Regions from separate parts of the Homo sapiens genome. Here region 1 is linked to region 2. Evidence: promoter capture Hi-C in 16 types of primary human blood cells and fetal thymus (Javierre and others, 2016). All regions are on one chromosome and are shown on one strand. The core of a region is centred on a gene start or on the middle of the fragment in contact, and the rest is flanking DNA. Distances in the headings are between cores, read along the strand shown.

Region 1 (6,520 bases), core at 2,608-5,107, 510 kb before region 2:
GGGGAGGTGGGCAATGACCCTGCAGGCTAGAAAGACTTACCTTATCAAGACTTTGTTCAGGTTAAAGGGAAACCAGTCATGTCCAAGCTTCTGCTCTAAAGATCGTAGGTCTGGGGTCATACATCTCTATTTAACAGAGCCTCTTAGTGAGTGTAGGATAAGCAATGATGGCAAAAATTGCACAACATGGGAGAGTAACAAAAATTTAGTGGGTGGGGGTCAGCATTTGAGGAGGTATGAGGGGATGGCCAAGAAGATAGTGACAAACCAGCGCCTGAAAGAGAGCGTCGCTATCTTGAAATCCCCCTGGTGGTAAATTGTCGGAACAGTATGGCCTAGGTTTCTGATTTAATCTATCACCTATCTTGTGCTGTGATGTCATTCCTCTATGTTATTCCAAACCTTCAGTAAAATTCTGCTACATCCAACAGCCTTGTGTACCTGCAAGAAGGGGCTGCTGATATCTTATGCAGGATAAGAAGAACTAAGAAGAGAGTAGGAACCGAAGGTAATGGTTTGGACAGACAGATCAAGAAAATGTCTTCTCTGGAGAAAGCAACAGGAATACTGGCTGGTAGGACAGGAGGTTAATTTCCCACAATAAGTGGCTTTTGAGGGCTCCACTACAGCATTTGCATATTAAAGATTGGTCCCAGAAGGCTGTAAGATTTGAGGACATTTGGCTTATATTGAGAATACTGGCACTAAAATAATTGAAATTCTTGTTATCTCCTGTTCCCATGGTTCCCAACTTTGTATTTCTCAGACTAGTAATATTTTAACAAAAATTCTAGGGACTGCTTGGGTCATCAACCTTTTACTGTGTCATTCAAAAATATTTTCAAAACTGTTTCATAAAATAAAGGACATGTTAACACACACAGACAAAATAGGGCATAATAGAACAATTTTTAAAATGTGTTTTTATAAAAACCAAATTTGTTTTATGAAAGAAATTTGTTTTTATGTTTTTATCTGAAATGATCTCACATTTTCCAAACTATTGAATTGAAAACAGTATACATTTCATTTTATTTAGCCTTAGCTAATAACCCTTTATTCACTTATTTGTTCATTTTTGGAAAACACTAAATGTTTTTTATAAGCCTCTCTTTTCTTTAAAAAAAAAAACATTTTGAAAAAACAGGGTATCACTCTGTCCCCAGTGGGAGTACAGTGGCAAGAGCTCAGCTCACTGCAGCCTCAAATTCCTGGGCTCAAGTGATCCTCCTGCCTCCGCCTCCTAAGTAGCTGGGACTACAGGCGCATGTGCCATCACACCCAGCTAATTTTTTAATTTTTTGTAGAGAGAGGGTCTCATTATGTTTTCCAGGCTGGTCTTGAACTCCTGGTCTCAAGCAATCCTCCCACTTTGTCCTCCAGAGTGCTGGGATTACAGGTGTGAGCCATCATGCCTGGCTTATAAACCTCTTATGTGCCATTCACTGTGCTAGGTACTGGAGGGCAGAGATGAACATGACTTTGCCCCTGCCCTCAATATCTCAAGGTTTACTAGGGAAGTCAACCAGGTGATCTCAAGTGCAAAACTCACACAGTACAAGGGGAAAATGTAAAGGCAACAATTCATAAGTAGATGCTCTATCTCTATGCAGAACTGCAAGAAATACCAAAGCCTGATGTCAGGATTTACTTAGCACATGTAATTTGAGTTTTCTTACCAATGATTTAGGGGGAAGCTGAGACTTACTCCAGAGATCATGGAGTTTTCAGACTTTTTTCTGCTCCCAGCCAATCACAGGACTAGGAACACACCTCACGTGCAACATGTCAACCAGTCGATGAGTTCTCCCACGCTAGATAGAAAGAGGCTGGGTATATGGCGTTTGGGAAACAAAAACTGCAGCCTCTCCCTTGTCTACCATGAAATGGCTCTGCATACAGCCACTCTGCTCACTACAGAACATATAACCTGAAGGTTACTGGAGGACAGAGCAGGGTGAGGGCTGTGCTGCCATGGTAACAGTGCCATAGGATTTGGTGCCACACTGGAGATGGGGCACTCAGGGCACTTTCTGGCTACACACAGCTGGAAGATGTCTAGGAGCAGTGTTAGGCACATTGGTCCCCCCTGCTCAATACAAACCACCCTCACTTTGGGAAGTGATGAGGTTTTCTAGTTCCGATCTGGAGTGAGAATCAGACGGAGGCATATCATGGTATCCCAATCATCTAGTTCTGGAATTTCCCTAGAGGGTAGGGGATGCTGGTATAGTAAGGGATACATAAACACATTTATATGGGAAGAAGATCCAGAGGTTGGTACACTGGGGAGTCTCTGTCTCTGTCTCTGTCTCTCTTTCTCTCTTTCTCTCTCTGTCTCCCTCTCTCTCCCCGCCCAGTGCTCCAGAGGTACCACACTAGAGGAAAGAAATGAACTATATGCATCTTCTTACGTTATATAATCGGAGTATATATGTCAAAGGGATAGTCACTGGAACATTTTTCCCTCCTTATCTTCCCTCAACTTTTGTCAAAAATAGGTCTAGAACTTTCACACAATTATCCATCCTTATTTAAAATCAAAACCTGGATTGATCAGCTGATGGCTGCAGTTCTCACGTCTTTGCCCAGGTCTTCTGGCGTCTCTGAAGCACAACGTGTGACAATGGCACAAAAACGCAGGAAGTGACTGTTGAATGCACAGAGGTTCTGCAGCTTCCGTCCATTTTCACACAATTTCCATTTTAGATTCTGAGCAGTTCTCCCTCCCCATGCGCTATGAAATAGAAGGGTCTGGCTGAATCAGCCACTTGAAATTAGGTTTCTTCCCTGCAGGGGATTAGGAACCGAGGTGCGGTTCTTCTTCGCACTCCACACCACACCCCGCAACCCTAGAAATCAGGACTTTCCTGGAGAAAGACCCAGCAGGGACCCAGGACCCGCAGACGGTGCGGGGAACTGGTGCCTCTGCAAAGCCCAGCAATGCCCTTGACCAGGCCAGGAGAGGCGCGAGGCGAAGCAGAGTTGTCCCCGAGGCGTGTTGAGGCAGCTAGGGCAGGGCAGCGATTGCTTCGGAGGAGAAAGGGAAAGAAAGTCCCCTGGTCCCCGAAGTCTCCCAAGGTCAATTCCCAGGGGACTCCAAAGCAGCGACGGGGCTCTGAGATCTGGCAAGTTCTAGGAGTCGAGCGAGGGGAGCGAGTGTCTTACCTGGTCGGGCTGGCTGGTGTAGTTGAAAGAGTAGATGTTCTCGGTGCTGAGGTTCACCACCCCGCTGTAGACATGATCGAAATCGGCGCCCCTGGCAGCGTCGAAGGGGTCGCGGCGCGGTGCCGGGGGCTGCCTGGGGGATTTCGCCGGGTGCCCGGGCGACGCCGCCAGCAGGAGCCAGGGCAGCGCGCAGAGCAGCGCGAGCCGCAGGCAGCCGCGCATGGTGGGCACCGCGCCCGGGCTCGAAAGCGGAGCCACCCTGGGGAGGGGGCGAGCGCAGAGAGGGTCCTTCCAAAGCCCGGTGCAGGGCCAGGCGTCCGCTTCAGAGCCGAGCGGGTGATGCCTGGCGAACCCAGCCGGCCAGGGCTGGCAGCGTGCTGACGAAGGGCCGATCAAATACTGATGCTGCCGCCTGGGGTCTCCACTGGAGGTCACGGGTGGAGAGTAGGGCGGACTGGAGAAGTGGAGATGTGGGGCTGCTGATTTTCCTCCGGCTTCTAAGTCCCCCGTTTCTCATCGCCGAGAATCCCCCCACTTACCCAGCCAGAATTTAGACCGATCTCTTCTCCCTCAACCTCAATAACAGCAATAATAAAAAGGCATTGGAGTCATTAAAAAGAAATACCCGCTAGTCTCGAAAAGTCAACCTGACGCCACATCGAGGAGGAAATTCGGTCTGTTTCAAATACGTGTGCACCCTGGCTGCAGGAGAAGAAATAGAAAGCAAAAGAGCCCGTCCCCCAAGAGGGTGCGCGAGTTCGCTTTCCCAGGCTGCTACCTGCAGAGAACTCTTGCCTGTCTGAACGATAATTACTCTCTATTCTCCCCTCTCTAATAGAACCTCTCCTCAGACACCTGTTTTATTTCTTTATTACCTCCTACTCTCCATGGAGAGTCTCACGTCATCACGTTCTCTCCCTCACCATATGTGTATGTATGTAAATATGTACAGTTAAAAAAAAAAAGATATGGTAAAGAGAACAATTTCCAGCACTGCCTGAAGTCTGGTCCCGGAAGTTGTCAAAAAACGACTCAGACTAACTAGATTTATGCAGAAGGCATTTCTTTCCACCCCAGCCTCTTACCTACTTTACCATTGCAATGACTTCTTCCAGATTCTGAGAGAAACCCCAGGATTGTTTTTTTAAAGGCAGAAACCACAGCCTATCGTAAAAAGGAAATACTTTTCTGATAAAAATTAGGGGATTAGATTTAAAGAGTTAAAGAGGCAGGTAAGGAGCAGGGTGAGAATGGGGCCATCAGAAGACCTTGCAGAACATTGAACAATCACAATTTACGTGTGGAAGAGAACTCACTGTTTTATTTCAGCTTCATTACTGTATACTATAAAAGAATGTAATTGTGTTCAACCTGAAGGACCATTTAAAAAGAAGTCATTAAGAAGGAAAAGATCTTTTTCAAAAATTTAAGATTACAGATTAAAATCCTAGTCCTTGCCATCTTTAAAGAGATAGATTTGTTTTTGTTTTTACCTTGTCTAATTCCTTTAATTTCTTAAAACATCAAGAATGAATGCAATACATTTGTTGTAAAGTTTTCTGTGAAATCAGAAAACAATGCTGATGGAAGATTAAGTTAGTAGACTCCTTATTAGGACAATTTTCAGTTTTAAAGTTTTGAATGTTCTTGGCCAGGTGCAGTGGCTCATGCCTGTAATCCCAGCACTTTGGGAGGCTGAAGTGGGAGGTGGGCTAGCTTGAGGCCATGTGTTCATGACAAGTCTGGGCAACATGATGAAACCCCATCTCTACAAAAAATACAAAAATAGCTGGGCGTGGTGGTGCATGCCTGTCGTCCTAGCTACTTGGGAGTTGAGTTGGGAGGACTGCTTGAGTCCGGGAGGTCGAGGCTGCAATGAGCCGTGAACACCCCACTGCACCCCAGCTTGGATGACAGAGCAGGACCCTATCTCAAAAGGAAGAAAGGAAGGAAGGAAGAAGGAAGGAAGAAAGGAAGGAAGGAAGGAAGGAAGGAAAGAAAGAAATTTCTTGAAAATATATGGGTATATGGGCAAAAATACTAATTCAAAGGAGAGTCTGGGGGTAAAACTTCAAATAGAACTCACTGTTTTTGAGGAGCATAACGAAATAATTTCATCCAGAATTTGAATGACTTTAAACTGTTGTATTCAAAATATCTGTGCCTCTTTTCAAAGTTCAACAACATTTCATAAACTTGAAATCTACGAAGGTCCTGGAGGTTAGCTGGTGTGACCAGTTAAAGGAGTCTCTAGGATTATGGAGTTCTATTATGGCGTTCTTTTTAAACACTATAAGAGATGAGGAACTGGTTCTTTCACAAGTCAACACCTTCTTTTGGGGGCAAGTGTCTCATTATTAGAAAGACATTTCATATTCTTAGTTGAAATCTGCCTGTCTTCTACTCACTTGTACTAGTTCTGCCCTCTGGAGTCATAGGAATAAACCTAATACTTCTTCCACATGACAGACCTGTGGGTATTTAAATGGTGCTATGACCCTTCCTTCAAGATTTTATCTCAACTTTACGCAACTAAATTGGAAGCAAATGGAACAGATCCTTCATCATAGCATGAAACCCAAAATATTTATTTTAAAGCCATTTGTATGGATTATCTATACCTAACAATTTGAGTTATATATTACAAGTCACTCTGTAATATTATCTAATCCTTATTCTAGCCAAAAGTCATTCAGTGACCTCAAGTAATTAACCTCTCAGGATCACAAGGTTGTTGTAAGGATAAAAGGGAGAATGATGTATTTGAAAGTACATTAAAAAGTTTAAAGTGTTGAATGAACAAATACTGTTATGGTGTGACTGCTAGTTCAATAGCTAAAAAATAAAATGTGGTCCATTAGGTAGGTGGTTTTTTTCTTTATTTTTAAAAGGAATTTTATTTTAAATTTTTGTGGGTACTTAGTAGGTGTATATATGTATGGAGTATATGAGATATTTTGATACAGGCATGCAATGCATAATAATCACATCATGGAAAACGAGATATCCATCACCTCAAGCATTTATCCATAATGTTACAAACAACCCAATTATACTCTTTTAGTGATTTTTAAATTTACAATTAAATTATTATTGACTATAGCCTGTTGTGCAATCAAATACTACACCTTATTCATTCCATTTTTTGGTATCCATTATCCATCCCCACCTTCCTCCCCCAGCTCTCCCACTACCCTTCCCAGCCTCTGGTAACCATCCTTCTACTCTCTTTCTCCATGAGTTCAATTGTTTTGATTTTAAAGGCAGTTTTTTTTTTTTAATATCTACAATGTCAGGATTCTACTGTGAGAGACTAAATATGCAAGTGGGCAATGGCCAGACCATAAATAGC
Region 2 (5,879 bases), core at 1,213-3,712:
AGTAGGTTCATATGCCATTGGAGAAATAGACATGAAAGTAAACAAAGAAATACAATAAAGCGAGGTAAATTCTGTGAGAGAGGCTGTGGTAGGCTGAATAAAGATCCCTCCACCTCCCACCCAAAGATGTTCACATGCTAATTTCCATAATCTGTAAATATGTTACCTTGCACTGAGAAGGGATTTTGTAGCTATATAACCTTGAGATTTCAGCTGCTTGAGATTTCAGCACCCCAGCATTTTTGTGTGTGTGTGTGTGTGTGTGTGTGCATGAAATAATGAAAATTTTGAACAGGCCCTTGCTTGCTTGTACATGTTAACCACTCGCTTTTTGCCCAGTATTCCTTGTTCCCACAATGTAATTATAAACTGCTGATGTACTGTTTCTTTGTCAAGCAGAAGGAGATAACTTCAGGGTCATAAGAATAGTTTGCAGAAGGAATGAATTCCTGGAAGGACATTGCAACCAGCTGCCATGTACATACGGCTGCACAAGGTGTTACCTGAAATGGAAGAAACACAGACTTTTCCCTTGGATTCCTTGAAACTCCCTCTCCATTACTCTCTAGCTCCATAAAAACTCCCTGCTTCTTTTTTGTTACTGTGGATCTGAGAGATCTTGCTCTCTTGCCCTCTAACTTTGGTCAAATCGAATAAATATTTCTCTGTCTCCAAGCACCAGTATCTCAATATTTGGCATCAGCTGCCCATCGGGTACATGAGCCTGAATTTGGAGTTCTAAAACAGATGTGATTAAGTTAAAGATTCTGAGATGGAGTGACTATCCTGATTATCTTGATGGGCTCAATGTAATCACAAGGGTGTTTTTAAGAGGGAGGCAGGCAGGAGGGTGAGAGAGACAGAGGAAGAGGAGGAGACTGAAAAATGTCATGCTGACAATGAAGGTGGAGGATAGTGAAATGAGCCAAGGAATGAAGGCAGCCTCTAGAAGCTGGAAAAGGAAAGGAAATGAATTCTTCCCTAGAGATTCCGGAAGGAACCAGCCCTGCCAACTTCAGTCCATTGAAATTAATTTTGGACTTCTGACCTCCAGAAATGTAAAATAACTTCTACTTATTTCAAGCCATTAGGTTTGTCGTAATTGGTTACAGCAGCAATAGAAAACTAATACATAGGCCAACATAGGGCACTGTGGTAACACATTAAAGGGGCCTCTGTATCAAGTTATGGAGTGAGGACGGGGTGTTTAGGAAGAATTACCCCAAGTGACGACCCCAGAGCTGAGGAAAGGAGATTGTGTTTCCGAGGATGACCCAGGTAGAGTAGGTAGATGTGTAAAGGCGCACAGAAAGAGCATGGAAAGTGTTTCAATAAAGTAAGACTGCTTGCATGAAATAGTAGTAATAACATCAACAATATTAACTATGGTAAATGTTCATTGTTTGTATGCCAGGAGTGCCTTGGCATTTTACAAGTCTGTGAGATTGATACTATTATTATCATCTTCATTTTACCCACAGGGATACTAAGGTCTGGAGGAGGAGGTAAGTAAATTTCCTGAGATCACCGAGCTAGTAAACAGCAAAGCTAGAACTAGAACCTTGGCAGTCTGTTTCCAAAACTCACTGTTTTTCTAATACGTTACTGTGGGAGTGTTAAGAACTTAAGGGGGCATTAGCATGGCTGAGGATAAATGAATTATTAGAAAGATATTAATGAGGTAAGGATCACTAGAGCTTGGAATATGATCTTGTCTTGGAGACTGACAAAAGTGGGAATGACTGACAGGTGTCTTCCAAGTTTCTTTGATGTGATCTCGGTTTTGCTGTGGTTCAAGACATAAAGGAGCCTTCCTTTACCACTCAAAGCAAATCACTGCTTCTTCGCTACAAATTCCACACCTTGCACAAACCTCTTCATTTCATTTCTTCCTTTTTCCCCTAATGTCTGAGGCAGAGTTGGGGGTAAAAGCACCAACTCAATTCTGGGCCTCATTTTCCATATTTGTAAAATGCCTAGAAGTATTTAACAGTTCCAAACTTGGTTGTGCTTCCGAATCCCCTGCGCTAAGTTTAAACAAAACGCAGATTCCTCATCGCATTCTCAGAGATTCTGTTGGTTAGTATTGGGATGGGGCCTTTTTTCCCCCATGATTCTACGCGGCCACGTGTTGGTAACCAATATACAGATGACTGGGTCCTTCCCAGTCCCACGCGTTTACTCGATGAAGGCAGCCTCCCGCCGGGCTCCTGGCCCCGCCCGAGCCCCACCCCCTGCTCCCTTCCGGCCCGGACTGGGTCCCATCGCCCCACCTCCGGTCGCTGGACGTGCTCTCGCGTAGCTCCGCCTTTCGTAAGTCCCCCCGCCTCGCATGATGGCTGCGGTGCCGCCGGGCCTGGAGCCGTGGAACCGTGTGAGAATCCCTAAGGCGGGGAACCGCAGCGCAGTGACAGTGCAGAACCCCGGCGCGGCCCTTGGTGAGTGAGGCGCCGGGCGAGGATGGGGGAACGTTTCCGGGGGAGGCCGCCAGGCCCAGCCGGCGCATGTGGGCGGGGGTGGTACCGGGACTTCCCGGCCCGGGGGACGCTGGGAAGGGGCGCGGGGCACGTAGGGGTCGAGCGGTCCCAGCACTTTGCTGGTGTAGCTTGTAGGGCCTCTGGCTTCGCATTCCTTCATTGAACCAGCTGTGCTAACCCAGGGCTTGGCTGGAGAGATGAAAGACCAAGGCTCAGCCGTGCGCTGAGGGGGCGGAGAGAGGTGGACTCAGCTGGTGCCGGGGAACAGTGCTGCCTGGGAACCCTTGCTCACCCGGGTCTTCGGAGTCTTGTTTACCCTTCCGTCCATTTCCCCTTTCCTTCTTTTTCCTGTACCCGAGGAGCGGTGGACGTCACCTAAGCACTGGGACTCAAACTGCAATCTTTTCGGACCTCTATCTGCTTATCTGTGAAATGGAGTTAGTCCTCCTACTCCTCACAGGGGCGTTGGGAATATCTAATGATGTAATTTAGGAGACAGTGCGCTGTAAACGACGGTGTTTTGCCACCTAAATGGGTGGTATTTGTTAGGGTGAAGGGCATATAGTAGGTAGGAGCCTGGCGCAGGAGCCAGGTTGTTTGGGTTTGAATACTAGCTCTACCCTTTGCTGGAGCTTGAAGGAGTCATTGAACCTTTCTGTGCCTCACTGATCTCACTTTCAAATGGAGATAAAAGCACCTTCCTCATAGGGCTGTTTGGGGGGATGAAAGAGTTGATAATGTAGAGAAAGCATTTGGAACACTGCCTGGCATGGTAAATGAACACTCAAATGGAAGCTGTTATGAATATTAAATACGTAGCTCCGGGGCCCAAGGGAGAGAATACAGTCATGGGTTCTTTGTTTCCGGTTGGGCTGGTAAAGCCCTTTCCTCATCCCTCTTTTCACTAGAGACAAACTAAAAACCATGGCTTTAAGCTGCAAAAAGCCTAAAACAAAACAGAACAGAACAACAAAATAAGGCGGGTTGGACAAGCTTGACTTAGATCATCACATCCCCTTTCCCATATATCCATCCTACACACTTTACAGATTATCCCATCTATCCTTCCTACACACTTTACAGATTAATCTTCCCTCTTTCTCTATTCAAAAATTCTTTAACAACTCCTATTAGGCCTGGGAAATTCACCAACTCACTACCCATCCCCGAGGCAGCCCATTCTGTCTTCAGGTAGTTGTTGGGACAGTAAGAAAATTCTTGTTAGGTAGCAACCAGCCTTTACTTCCATTTAGAATGCTAGTGCTGCCTTTAGAGCCATAAATAACACATGAACTACATCTTAGGGACTTCTACAGATTTTCAGACTAGGAAGCATCTGCTGATGAGCACCCGGTGTTCATCAAATAATACGATTTCCAGTTACTGTGGTGGTTTTTCTTTTCTGAATATGTTTGTGTCTCTCATAAAGTGATATCCAAACACAGAAGCCTTGATTTTGAAGACTGTGAATTTATTCATTCTGTCTTGCTTTCGGGCATAGCGACATGGGGAGTTAGAGAGTTATTACACATGTTGTGACATGTGCCCTACCTTCAAGGTGGGGGTTAAGTGTACACATGAGGCGTAAGTGTACACCAAATGACTGACAGCAAAGTATTCATATGAAAGATTATTAAACCATGATAAAATGCAATGCAAAGATACAGCTTCTTGTTTTACAGATGTTCTCTTAATGATTTCCTGGACTTTATATCATCTGTTACCATTTTCCAACTTCTCTTATACTTAGAATCCTTACGTTCTTACAGTTGAGACTGATTACATTAGTTTTTGATTCCTTTAAAACAAATAAGGAAAGATGCTTTTTTTAGTGTGTTTTTAATATAATATACTTACTGTAGAAATACATACTAAATCTTATTAGATGTCTCTGCTTCAGACCTTTGCATTGCAGCTGTAATTAAAGAATGCCATCTCGTCATACTGTCGCTGAAGAGCCAAACCTTAGATGCAGAAACAGATGTGTTATGTGCAGTCCTTTACAGCAATCACAACAGAATGGGCCGCCACAAACCCCATTTGGCCCTCAAACAGGTGAGGAAGCCCGGTAGGTGAGACCCAACCTGTTCACTTGAAAATGTAGATCACACTGCCACTTACTATATTGCTATTTATGGAAATCTCGTGGAAATCTCAGTAAATTACTTGTGTTTTATAGGCCTATAGCCCACAGTTACATGTGCACTTTCTTTTTTTTTCCTAAAAGCATTTCAGCATTTCAAAAAGTAATTTTTGTTAGAAAAGAAGTATGTTTAGATTCTTTCCCAGTCTTGTTTCTAATAGGCAAGTAAACATTTTCTTCATTATATACAATCTATAACAACAGTGCCTTTGCCCAGCTCAAAGATAAAGTGATTTGAGCAAGACAAAATGTTGGACATTAAGAAACAGTTCCCTGGGCATAATCAGAATGCTAAAATTATTTTTAAAAAAACTTGTCTACTTATTATGGGGTACATAATCTAATTGGTGGTATGTTAGAGTAAATGGGTACATAGCAAGTTGTGGTGTAAACTGGTTTCATGTAATGTTTGGAGCTTAAGACAAAATTGGGCCCTCCAGCTCAGGGGCTATACCATAGAGTAGAGCCTCTCTTAAGCTGGCTTCCTGATATGCTCATTCATTCATTCACTTAATTCTGCAAGTATTTTCTGGAAGTTCAGAAGGCTATCCATTGTGTGACAGGGCTACCTTGCAAGTGTTTTTGAACTTTCTGTGTGCCAGGCATTCTGCTTAGTGCTGTGTATAGAGGAGTGAAAAAGGTAGACACAGTCTCTAACCTTATAGATGCATGCTTTCTGGTTAGTTTTCTACCCCTAGTACTTAAAGCAAACAGGGTGAAGATTTCATCAAAGAAAGATCTGGGACCATGGTCTTTCCCTAAATTTTCCATTCTAGGGTGGCTTTTATCTTTTTCGGAGTCTTTTTGATCCAAAAGCAAGCTTGCTAACCCTCAAAGTGAATATATTTCTCCTTCTAGCTTCTGGGTTGTGAATAATCACCCCGTCATCAAAATTTGGCATTCTCTAGTCTCTCTCTCTTACGTAGCTCTCCCATCCAGGCAGTCCATAAGACAAAACTTCCTCTGCATCTGGTCCCCTCTTCAGTTCTGGCTGCCATTTTCCTTTCTTAGACCTTGTCAACTTTTAGTTGTCTTACTATCATAACTGATGTTTCCTCCTTCAGCTTTTCCTAAGTTCTGGCATATTCTAAATATTAAAACCAGGTTAATCATCTGAAAACACAACTTTGATTTTTAGTCGTTCTCCATTGTGTCCTGAGTAAAGACCAAACTTCTTAGTTTGGCTTACGAGATCTGTGATCTGGCCTCTTCAGTCTTCTTAGTTCGGGCTTCTCTCTTGCGTTCAGATAGATTATATT

The links. The method cuts DNA at HindIII sites, captures the fragments that hold promoters and counts their contacts. A CHiCAGO score of 5 or more calls a contact.
Region 1: a contact is called between the fragment with the promoter of SIDT1 here and the fragment with the promoter of NEPRO-AS1 in region 2, in 1 of 17 cell types (activated CD4 T cells). The highest score is 5.1, in activated CD4 T cells.

Annotation. Positions count from the first base shown.
Region 1 is chr3:113,529,892-113,536,411 of GRCh38, reverse strand. It overlaps SIDT1 (SID1 transmembrane family member 1), which reads right to left and starts at 3,857. Exons shown (of 25, transcript NM_017699.3): 1 at 3,169-3,857. The coding sequence starts at 3,390. RefSeq lists enhancers at 2,966-3,095, 3,566-3,895, 4,036-4,225, 4,246-4,465 and a silencer at 3,246-3,295. The HindIII fragment of the contact is 7,487 bases long and covers 90-6,520 here.
Region 2 is chr3:113,016,101-113,021,979 of GRCh38, reverse strand. NEPRO-AS1 (NEPRO antisense RNA 1) reads right to left here and starts at 2,462. Exons shown (of 3, transcript NR_186663.1): 1 at 2,274-2,462. RMP64 (ribonuclease MRP subunit p64) reads left to right here and starts at 2,309. Exons shown (of 9, transcript NM_015412.4): 1 at 2,309-2,438; 2 at 4,378-4,532. The coding sequence starts at 2,333. RefSeq lists a silencer at 2,521-2,630 and an enhancer at 2,791-2,860. The HindIII fragment of the contact is 8,907 bases long and covers 1-3,472 here.